3 separate regions of the Homo sapiens genome follow, and all the other regions are linked to region 2. The links are contacts of gene promoters, found by promoter capture Hi-C in blood cells and fetal thymus (Javierre and others, 2016). All regions are on one chromosome and are shown on one strand. Each heading gives the region's core, a stretch centred on a gene start or on the middle of the fragment in contact. The rest is flanking DNA. Distances are from core to core; before and after follow the strand shown.

Region 1 (3,137 bases), core at 71-2,570, 390 kb before region 2:
TGTGAAAAATCTAATCCAATTCCTCACTTCATGTAGACACAGCAGAAATCCTTTCCACTGATGTTTCCGTCAAAAGATCTGTCAAAGGAAGGGCGAGAAAGAAGCACAGCCTCCCCGCCTCCCCATTTAGCAGGCAGCAGTTTTAAATATCTTTGTTGTATTGCTCTTGGCCAGATTCTACCGTCCGATATTTTTGATACTCCCAGGTCTTTAATTTTAATATAAAAATTTTGCTTGAAAAAATAGTGATTTTTCTTTTATGTGGGAAAGTATTATATTAATATAACCAATGTTCATTGTTTGATGCACAGAGCAGGAGATAAAGTGAACAGATAGATCTCACACAGCTTCAAAAGAATTTTTGTTTTTGTTTTTGTTTTAAGACGGAGCCTCGCTCTGTTGCCCAGGCTAGAATGCAGTGGCGTGATCTTGGCTCACTGCAACCTCTGCCTCCCAGGTTCAAGCGATTCTCCTGCCTCAGCTTCCTGAATAGCTGGGACTACAGGCGCCCACCACAGGGCCTGGCTAATTTTTATATTTTAGTAGAGACGGGGTTTCGCCATGTTGGCCAGGCTGGTCTCGAACTTCTGACCTCAGGTGATCCACCTACCTCGGCCTCCCAAAGTGCAGCTTCAGAAGAATTTGGATTCCATTTTTGAATTCAGACCCGTATCATCAGCTGAGATAATAACTAAAAATGTACCAGGAATTTTCTCTGACAATAACAGACATTGTATTGAATTCATTAGTGCTTGAGTCACCAAATAGAAGGTTATATCTGGGGAAAAGAATGAGTTTAGGGTTCACAAGAAAGCCAGTTGACATATGCTCGGTCATATTACTAGTATGAAAGCTTGGAGCCAAAGAGAATATTCACAGATTTGTGTGTACTTTTATTCATCATCAGCGGACATCAGTGACATAATCAGGCTCACCAAAGCCCCCTATTTCTAGCAGAGAGGAAACATTCTAGGTGTGACTGTAAAATTATAAGGCTGGCTGCTGTGGAGTCTGTCTCATTACTTTATAATCACATTCCATGGCCTCCTGAAGTGGTTTGCCTTGTTCTTGATTCAACAGTTTTACTAAAAAAAGAAATATTAGTTGTTATTACGCAAGTTTATTTTACTTGCACCTTTCAGAATCTTGAAGTAAATTTTGTCTATTGGCCAACCAGAGCCCCTCTTTTTCTGGTAAACTTTACACTTTTAGTTACCCACACTTTCTAGAAATTATGAAACCCAGTAATGCAAACTGGCATATGTCAGAAACACTATAAATATTCACAAACGTCATCATCATAATCAACATCACTAAGATTTACTGAGCACTTCACATGTGTTACATCAGGTAATTATTACAAAAACTCAGTAGGGATATAATTATCCCCATTTCACAGATCAGAAAATTGAAATTATAGAAGTTGAGTAACTCAGCAAAGTCACAGGGATAAGTGGCGGAGCCAGGAGTCAAACCCAGGCATTTTGACTCTGGAGGCTGCCTCGACTTCTGTATTATGCTGTCATCAAAAAGGGATAGACACAGTGTACATCAGTACAATGGATACTCAGTAAATAGGAAGAATCCTGGACTTTAAGAATTATTAATAATATGGGAAATGTTCATTTAAAAAAGATAAAGAGAAAAATGTGTTGAGAACTTACTGTGTACCAGATGCTGTGGTAAGTTGCTATATATACATTGTCTCATTTCATCCTCATATTAACCAATGACGCAACGAATTATCTTATTATCTCTATTTTATAAACAACCGAGTCAGAGATTTAAGAAGCTTGGCTAAGTTCACACGACTAATAAATCACAGAGCCAGGATTTGAACTTATGTCGATTTGACTCCAGAGCCTATGGACTCAATCTCTAACCTATACTGCATCTTAGCTTACCCAATTACACACATGGTTAATTTGGGCAATGTGTGCAGATATGTAGGGGCAAGACTGGAAGGAAAAACACAAAACATTTAAAAGTTGTCGTCACCAAGAGTCAGATTATGGATGGTTTTTATTGTCTTCTCCATACTTACCTGTATTTCCCAATTTTTCTTTGACAGGCACTTATTTCTTTTTCGGTCAATGAAAACATTATTAATAATACAGAACAAACATATTACCTGTGTGCCATGCACTATGGCCCCCGGAATCCCTGCTCCAGAAGTAACAGCAAGCCCTGCCCTCTAGCTTCAGCCTCTTCCTGCAGGCTGGATCCATTTCCTAACCTTCACTGAAACCAGGCTGTCCCAAAGCTTATCTGTGGAGGTGACTATTGCCACTCCAGACCATCACCTCCCACCTCTCTCCCTTGAGACTCACAGCATCTGTCAGTACCAACATATCCCCAACCGGACCCGACCTCTGTCCCTCAGGTATCCTTCATCACCTTTTTTGACATCTTCAGTAGCTACTTAGATGACCCACCCAACACCCTGCCAATCAGTTCCTGGGCTTCCTAGGGCCAATGAATACATTTTCCTCTGCTCCATGACTGCCATAGGCTGCGTGATTCACATGCCTCGCCCAAACTTGCATCACCTCCAGAACACTACATATACCAGCCATGACCTCTTATCTTCTATGTCACTTGATCAAGTATTTCTACCATATTTCGCCTTTAATTATGACATAAAATTCTCGGTTTCTTGATCTCCATCAGTCCTTTCCTTCCTTCACATTTTTTCTCCAGATTACACCCCATGGCCCGTCATTATAACCACCTTGCCCCCTCTCCCTGCATCATGCTTGCCTAAGGAGACCCAGGTGCTCACTCCTCCTCAGCTGCACCCAGCAGGTGAACTTTGGCCAGATTCATACAACTAAGCAAATTGGCTTCACTTTAAAATTCATCCTCCTGCACCCCAAATGGGCTTTCACTGTAACCCAGCAACCCAGTGCATTTTTGCTAGTAAGATTACTGTCCCTGTCTCCAAGAAGACCATTTCTTCTCTCTTCTCAAACTCTCTACCCTTCCTAGTGGCCTCCTCACATCCTCCATCCACTTTAACTTACACTTGGCTGAGAAAATAGGGGCCATCAGATCCGCCCTCACCTTCCCACCATCAGATTCACAAACTCATCCACACTTGACATTGTTGATTTTTTTTCTTTCCTTTAGCAACTGAG
Region 2 (3,365 bases), core at 50-2,549:
TTTTAATACGAAGGTTTTGAGGGAAAGGATGAGAGAAGAGATTGGCCACCATTTTAAATCTGAGAGGATCACAAGGTACTGAAAACTCTTCAGCCTCATAAAATCTTGCCGCACTGAGTGCCTGGTAATATCCTAAAAACAAACCACTTCTGTTCAAAGAAGAAAAAGGTCATTGTTGTGGAAATAACACTTTGAGGTTGGCTTAGCATGTGGTTTTGCTAAAGTAGAACACTTAAAATTTTCAGATTGTTAGTTTTTTTCTTTAGGAAACAGAAACTAAAGATCATTTCTGACTACCAACAGCAACAACAAAAAAAAGAAAAACAGAAAAAAGCTTTCTAATATGAAATTTACACATTAAAGCTTGAAACTGACTGTATTGGACAGCCACCACATTAATTTCAATAACCAGATCAATGAAGCTTGTTTCACTTCTACCTGTATAATGCTTACCATAATCATTTTCTTTTAGATAAAAGATTTTTCCTTCATTATTCAGATTTTAGAGGGAAGTGGGTCTACCTACTGTAGAAAAATAGTGAATGAGAAAACGTGAGCATCACAGGTTTAGCTACAAAACAAAGAGGTCTTTGTCATCACAGTTGATACAGGATACATCTCTGGCCTTGTCGGAGTCTTACACTTGAGGATCTGCTGTCCCATCTTCCAGGTAGGGACACTGAGTTTGCATTTGCGCCACTGCATAGTGGCCCAAAGCTAGGGGAGCGTGGCTGGAGCAGGCTGCGCAGTTGAGCAGACACCCTCCTAGCAGAAGAGAAAGTCCAGCAAACCAGCCCAGAAACAGGGCCTCCCCAAACTCCCACCTGGGGACAAAGTCTGGGACGTTCTCATCCCAGAACTCCTGAACCGTCTTGTGGGCAACCCAAGAGACGGGAACCAGGGCTGTGATTCCCGAGGCCCAGGACAGAATTCCTCCCAGAATGAGCAGTCGCCTCTTGAGATCTCTCTGACTCTCTCCAATTCTCAAACAGTCCAGGCCAAACCCAGAGACCAGCAGGCCCAGAAATCCCAGCCCATTTGACAGAAACATTAAGATCCTGGAGACCCTGAGTTCAGCAGGCAAAGCCAGGAAGGAGTCAAAGTCCTTGCATTGCATCCCCACTTCCTCTTGGATGACACAGGTTTGCCAGAGTCCCATGGTCCAGTTTTCCATTTCATTTAAGTCCAGGTTGAGGTTCTTCCAGTGTGGCAAATAAGTTGTAATAATGGATAAAATCCATCCCAGGAGAGATAGTAAAAGTCCAACAGATTGCATTGCTGTTCTAAAGATTAAAGCCATTGCGACAGGTCTTAGGACTTTGCCACCCCTATAGGATCTGCTGTCCTTTGTGGTTGACGGTAATGTGACAATCTTGGTTCTATGCTGCCTGGAATATAAGCTGTGGTCATTAACTCTTTGGGCACTCTGAAATGCGTTTTTGTTCTTCTTGAATATAATGTTTCACGTAAAGGACGAAGGACTCTGTTAAAACTATGAGTTGGGCTTTCTGATAAGGACTTGATCTGTTACCTTCCAATTTGGTAAAATTATATCCCCAATGCTTGATGATTATAAGTCTAAGGATGAACAAAGAGGGCTCTATGACCCCTCACCCTAAAATACAACAGAAATCTTTGTGCTTCAGTATGGATTAATTAGATTTTAAGTGGTGATAAAAGGCCAGCTCTTTCTACAACAGGACTTCATTGTAAGAGCTGAATCTGAAATTTCAGGGATGCAAAACAAGGTCTTGTAAAGAAAGGTAGACTGTTTCCTATAATCTCTATTCTTCTCAGACTTCCTTAACCTACACAAGAGCCTGGCCCACATCCTCGAGTGTCGCAGGAGCTCAGAGTTGGCAGGAAGGTTCCTCGGATTCCTTTGAAAGGTAGAGGCTGGCTTACGGGACTGATTAAAATGAAAAGGACTGAGGCTGATGCTGGGGGCTACTGAGTGCGGAAGGGAACGTCCCGGGCAGTTCCAGCATTCACTCTGTGGTTTTCTCCATCCTCGTTAAGGACTTGGGGGTAAAGCATGATATCTTAGCGTCCAGGGAGGTGTTTTTTGTCCAGAGCTGAGCTGTCCCCTTGTCATTTCAGCAGCTTACGCAGAGCAACACCAGGCTTCAAGACTCCTGCCAGCTCCCAGACAAAAGTCTCTGGTACAAACACAATAGCCACAATGGAGCTGAACTTCGAGGCTTCATCTTGTTTATTTTTTTGGTTGAGGCCACACCTTGAGAGCATACTTACGCAGAGGGTTGACCCCTCAGAGAACACAGGACCGGCCTCACAGGCCAGGACAAGAGGTCACCTGCCCCAGATTCCCAGGGCTGCACCGTCTCCTCTCCACATGGCCCCTGGGCATCCTGCACCTGCTCAGAGGAGATAAAATCAGATGGGCCCACAGGACAGAAAAGTCCCTAAAGGTGGAGCCACTCCCCTGAGAGGTTCTAACCTGGAGAAGTAGAACCACTGCCCATCACGTTGCAACAGTGGAGTGTAGCCCAGGATCAGAAATTATCTTCTATTGTGTCTCTAAATAGGAGATCGGAGAGACAGAACATGGATCCCGATGTATCCAAATTACTTTGGATAAGATTGCATAAGATGTAGATTTGAGGTGGTACTTTCTTCAGCTTTTCCTATCATCTTAAGTTTAAAAAGAAAAAACTATGCACCAGATGAACTCTTCCTTAATTTTTACAAATTTTCAGAATTCCTGAGGATGTATTGGTGCCCCCACCATCCTGAAATAAGTCATTCCAGGGTGCTTAAAGGTACCTGGATCCAGAGGGCCGGAGACCTGTCTGGGGCCTCATCACCAGTGCACAGGATATGGCAAGCTTGAGCTCTCTTCCAGGAGGCAGTCGGGGTGGTGAAGGCCTGGAGAGCAAGTGGGAAAGATCATAGGGAGATGATTCTTAATATCACAGTGAAACGCTTTTTAAAAACCTAATGGAATAGGCTGCTCCGTGACGTAGTGAGCTCTCCCTGCTGCAGGCATCTAAGCCAAAGGTTATCACCTGCCAAGGTTATCACGGAGGGGATTTCTGCTGTGGTGGGTGTTGGACCTGCATAACCTCTGAGCACCTTCCCAATTCATTTATTCTGTCAGCATTAAAAAAATATGTTGTGGGCTGGGCGCGGTGGCTCATGCCTGTAACCCCAAGACTTTTGGAGGTCGAGGCAGGCGGATCACAAGGTCAGGAGTTTGAGACCAGCCTGACCAACATGGTGAAACCCCGTTTCTACTAAAAATACAAAAATTAGCCAGGCATGGTGGCGGGCGCCTGTAATCCCAGCTACTCAGGAGGCTGAGGCAGGAGAATCGCCTGAACCGGGGAGGCAGAGGTTGCAGTGAG
Region 3 (3,181 bases), core at 415-2,914, 410 kb before region 2:
GGCACTGCCCCACACTGGCAAAGGTGTTTAAGATGCTCTGCTGAACTCTTTCGCCTTAATTAATTCCAGGTTTTTCAGCATTTTCCTTCCCAGCATTACATCCTTTTTAGAGTATCCCTGTAGACATAGGAACTGACTCGGGTAAGAGCCCCACTTCTACCCAACGCACTCAGAGTGAGGCCTCCCCCGACTCTTGGGGACACTGAGATGCTACGGTTCCCTCCCTGGTGCAGTGAGATGCAGCAGGCCAAGCAACCCTGGCTCCCTGGTCCATTGGGTGGGATAGGAGGCCAAGCACAGAGGCACTCACCAAAACCCAGAGCCCTTTGCCAGCAGAAATCAGCAAGGCCACAAGTGCTGGGCAGCTGGATACATGTGGCAAGCATTACTAAAAATTCCCTTAAGTTTAACAACGGGAACAAGTTAATTCTCCAACTCTCTAATTTGTAAACTATATCATCAAAATCGGTTACGAAAACCCAAGGAAAGAGTGATATCTGAATCACCAAGAGTATTTTACCTCATTTGATAACATTGGTATTTTGATTAAATGTGCTTCACTATAATGAATTCCACAAAGAAAAAGGAATGAAAAATGTCAACTGAATACTTCATCACAGGTTTAGCAACCCACCCCCTCATGAAAATAAAAATCTTCCCAAGTTTTTTAATCTTGTAAATTAGATAAATCTGCTGCTTCCTCTTTTTTAATTGTCATTCATCTGAAAAGATTCTTAGTATAATAACATTGCCTTCTTCCTGCCACTTAATGTTACTGACATCATATTATCTTTTGGATTTTTCAGGAAAAGGATGGAATAAAAAGCTTCTTTAGCAGAGGGAATTTTCATTTTCCACATTAATACTACATTATAATAAAATAGTTTTATGAAGTTTTGATCCCAAGACTGGAAGAACAAAAACACCCTTTAAAAATAACTCTCTAGAGACACAGCCCAGGAAAAGCTCCATCTTCCTATTATGTTACAAGTAGTGTGTGTTTCCCTCCTCCCCACAAGGCATCAATCAGGACTAATGACTTCCGACTTACGGAATTAATAAAGCAGTATTAAGCTGTATGTTATTTGGTAAACTCAAATTTACACAGTTCTCAAGCTCCCTGTCACAGTCCCTTGGGGCTGCTATAACAAAGTCCCATAGACTGGGTGGCTGAGAAACAATGGACATTTATTTCTCATGGTTCTGGAGGCTGGAAGTCAGGACACCAGCATGGTTAGATTCTGGCAAGGTCTCCTTTCAGGGTTGCAGATAGCCATCTTCTCCGCCTATCCTTGCACATGGAAAAAGAGTAACTGAGCTCCCTGGGGTCCCTTTTAGAAGGGCACTAATCCCATTCAGGAGAGCTCCACCCTCATGGCCTAATTACGTCCCCCCAGGCCCCACCTCCAAATATCAGCACATTGGAATTAGGGTTTCAACATGTGAATTTGGGGGGAGACACATTCAGTCCACTGCACTCCCCTTTGAAGAAATGTTACAGTGAGCCACGCATGTGGCTTTCTGCATGATGCCGGACACAGGCCACCCCTCCCCGAGCTCCTGATCTCTGAGGAGTAATTATTTTATCGGAGCCTCAGTCTGATCAACTGCAAAAAAAAATGAGACAATGATTGGCATTTCAGTACAGCTGAATTCATGTGCCCCACAGGAGAGACACAGGGAGGTAGCAGGAAGAGCACTGACCTTGGAATTAGGAGATGTCACCCTGCATGTGTGACATTATAGAAGTTACTTACAAGAAAGGAGGAGGCTTAGATCCTGTGGGCATAGAACCCTGAGACACTACTAAGGTATTGCAAGGGGTCCAAGCATATCCACAACTGGATAAATCCCATGTCCAGGACATACATAAACTTTTCCCAAACATACATAAATGCTATCCAATTAATAAAGTTCAGATTAACAAAAAATGTTACTGATACGAAGTAGTTTTTGTCATTGTGGAGTTTCTTACTCAAAAGATACTAAGAATTTAGCATTATGCAGGGGTCCTGGAAGTTTTTCAGCATTTAAAAGAGGGTCCTGTACATTCAAAAGAGTTAAAAATCATTGTCCAGAACTCGAGATAATCTCTAAAGCTCCTTTACAGGGATTAACCTATGAATTTACCCTTCCTGCTACAGCAGCTCAGTCACCATTAATGTAGATGAGGAAAGAATGGGTTGAGCTATCCAACTCCAGGCAGTATCCCCTTATTTTTTAAATTAATTTTGAAAATCTTAAAACGAAAGCAAAAAAAAAAAAAAAGACTTTGCATTTGAGTCAATTATCAGCAAACATTTCTGTGACATCCCAGGCAATCCAAACATTTACTTCTCTGTGGCCTGAAAAACCTTGAGAAGACAACAAGTGTACAGTTTATACACAGTCATCGTCATTTAGACTTTAAGCCCATCTTTACTGTATTATGGCGGCAGTAATACTAAATGCCTTTTAGAAACCATTTAATACCTTCTACAACTTTTATGGTACATCAAATTACAAGCTTACTCTCGTGAAAGAAAACTGTCGACATTCTAACACAGCTACATATAAATGAATAATTGATAAGTAAGAGCAAAGAGCTTTGAAAACCTAGAGGTATCATATGGATAATAAAAAATAATGCAGACAGACAACCAGTGCCCAGGAGCTCAGGAGCTATTCAATAAAAAACAATCGGTGAAGTTGGACAAATACCTATGCAGGTTTTTAAAAAAATTCCTTCTAGAAAGGGGCTCTGAAAGGTACTCTCCTCAATTTGGACAAAAGGCAGTGTCTCATAACCAACAAAATCAGCTACACGGGAAGTCAGGAGAGCTGGGAAGTCTGGGGTGTGGGGCAGGTGCTGCAAATGTACTGCATGGCCCTTGGCTTCCAGGTCACTGCTTAAAGATCTGCTGGGGGCTCTGGGTGACTGAAGAAGGCACAGGCCCCATTGGGAGGCCCACTCAGTGCTCACCCAGGACCCCTCCGCACTGTCCAACCACGGGTATCTTTTGCACCAGCTTGAGTATGACGGACCGCCATCCCCCCAGAATTCCTCCATATCAAAGTCCAGCCCCAGGGCCAATATTTCACTGCCCAGACTCGGTGACATACTGACTGTGGCCGTCACACAGTTCAATGCAGACCTTTAACATATCGACCCTCCACTTTCACCATTTTTATAGGGGACTTT

Evidence for each region. The method cuts DNA at HindIII sites, captures the fragments that hold promoters and counts their contacts. A CHiCAGO score of 5 or more calls a contact.
Region 1: a fragment that was not itself captured here is called in contact with the fragment with the promoter of CLDN24 in region 2 in 1 of 17 cell types (M1 macrophages); the score reaches 5.4 in M1 macrophages.
Region 3: a fragment that was not itself captured here is called in contact with the fragment with the promoter of CLDN24 in region 2 in 1 of 17 cell types (endothelial precursors); the score reaches 5.3 in endothelial precursors.

What each region holds. Positions count from the first base shown.
Region 1 is chr4:182,931,083-182,934,219 of GRCh38, forward strand. No RefSeq gene overlaps it. Among named protein-coding and RNA genes, the nearest start is that of DCTD, 15 kb to the left of the region's middle. The HindIII fragment of the contact is 939 bases long and covers 852-1,790 here.
Region 2 is chr4:183,321,127-183,324,491 of GRCh38, forward strand. It overlaps CLDN24 (claudin 24), which reads right to left and starts at 1,300. Exons shown (of 1, transcript NM_001185149.1): 1 at 638-1,300. The coding sequence starts at 1,300. The coding sequence ends at 638. The HindIII fragment of the contact is 2,424 bases long and covers 421-2,844 here.
Region 3 is chr4:182,909,897-182,913,077 of GRCh38, forward strand. All of the region lies in intron 3 of DCTD (dCMP deaminase), which reads right to left. Among named protein-coding and RNA genes, the nearest start is that of DCTD, 5.9 kb to the right of the region's middle. The HindIII fragment of the contact is 1,680 bases long and covers 825-2,504 here.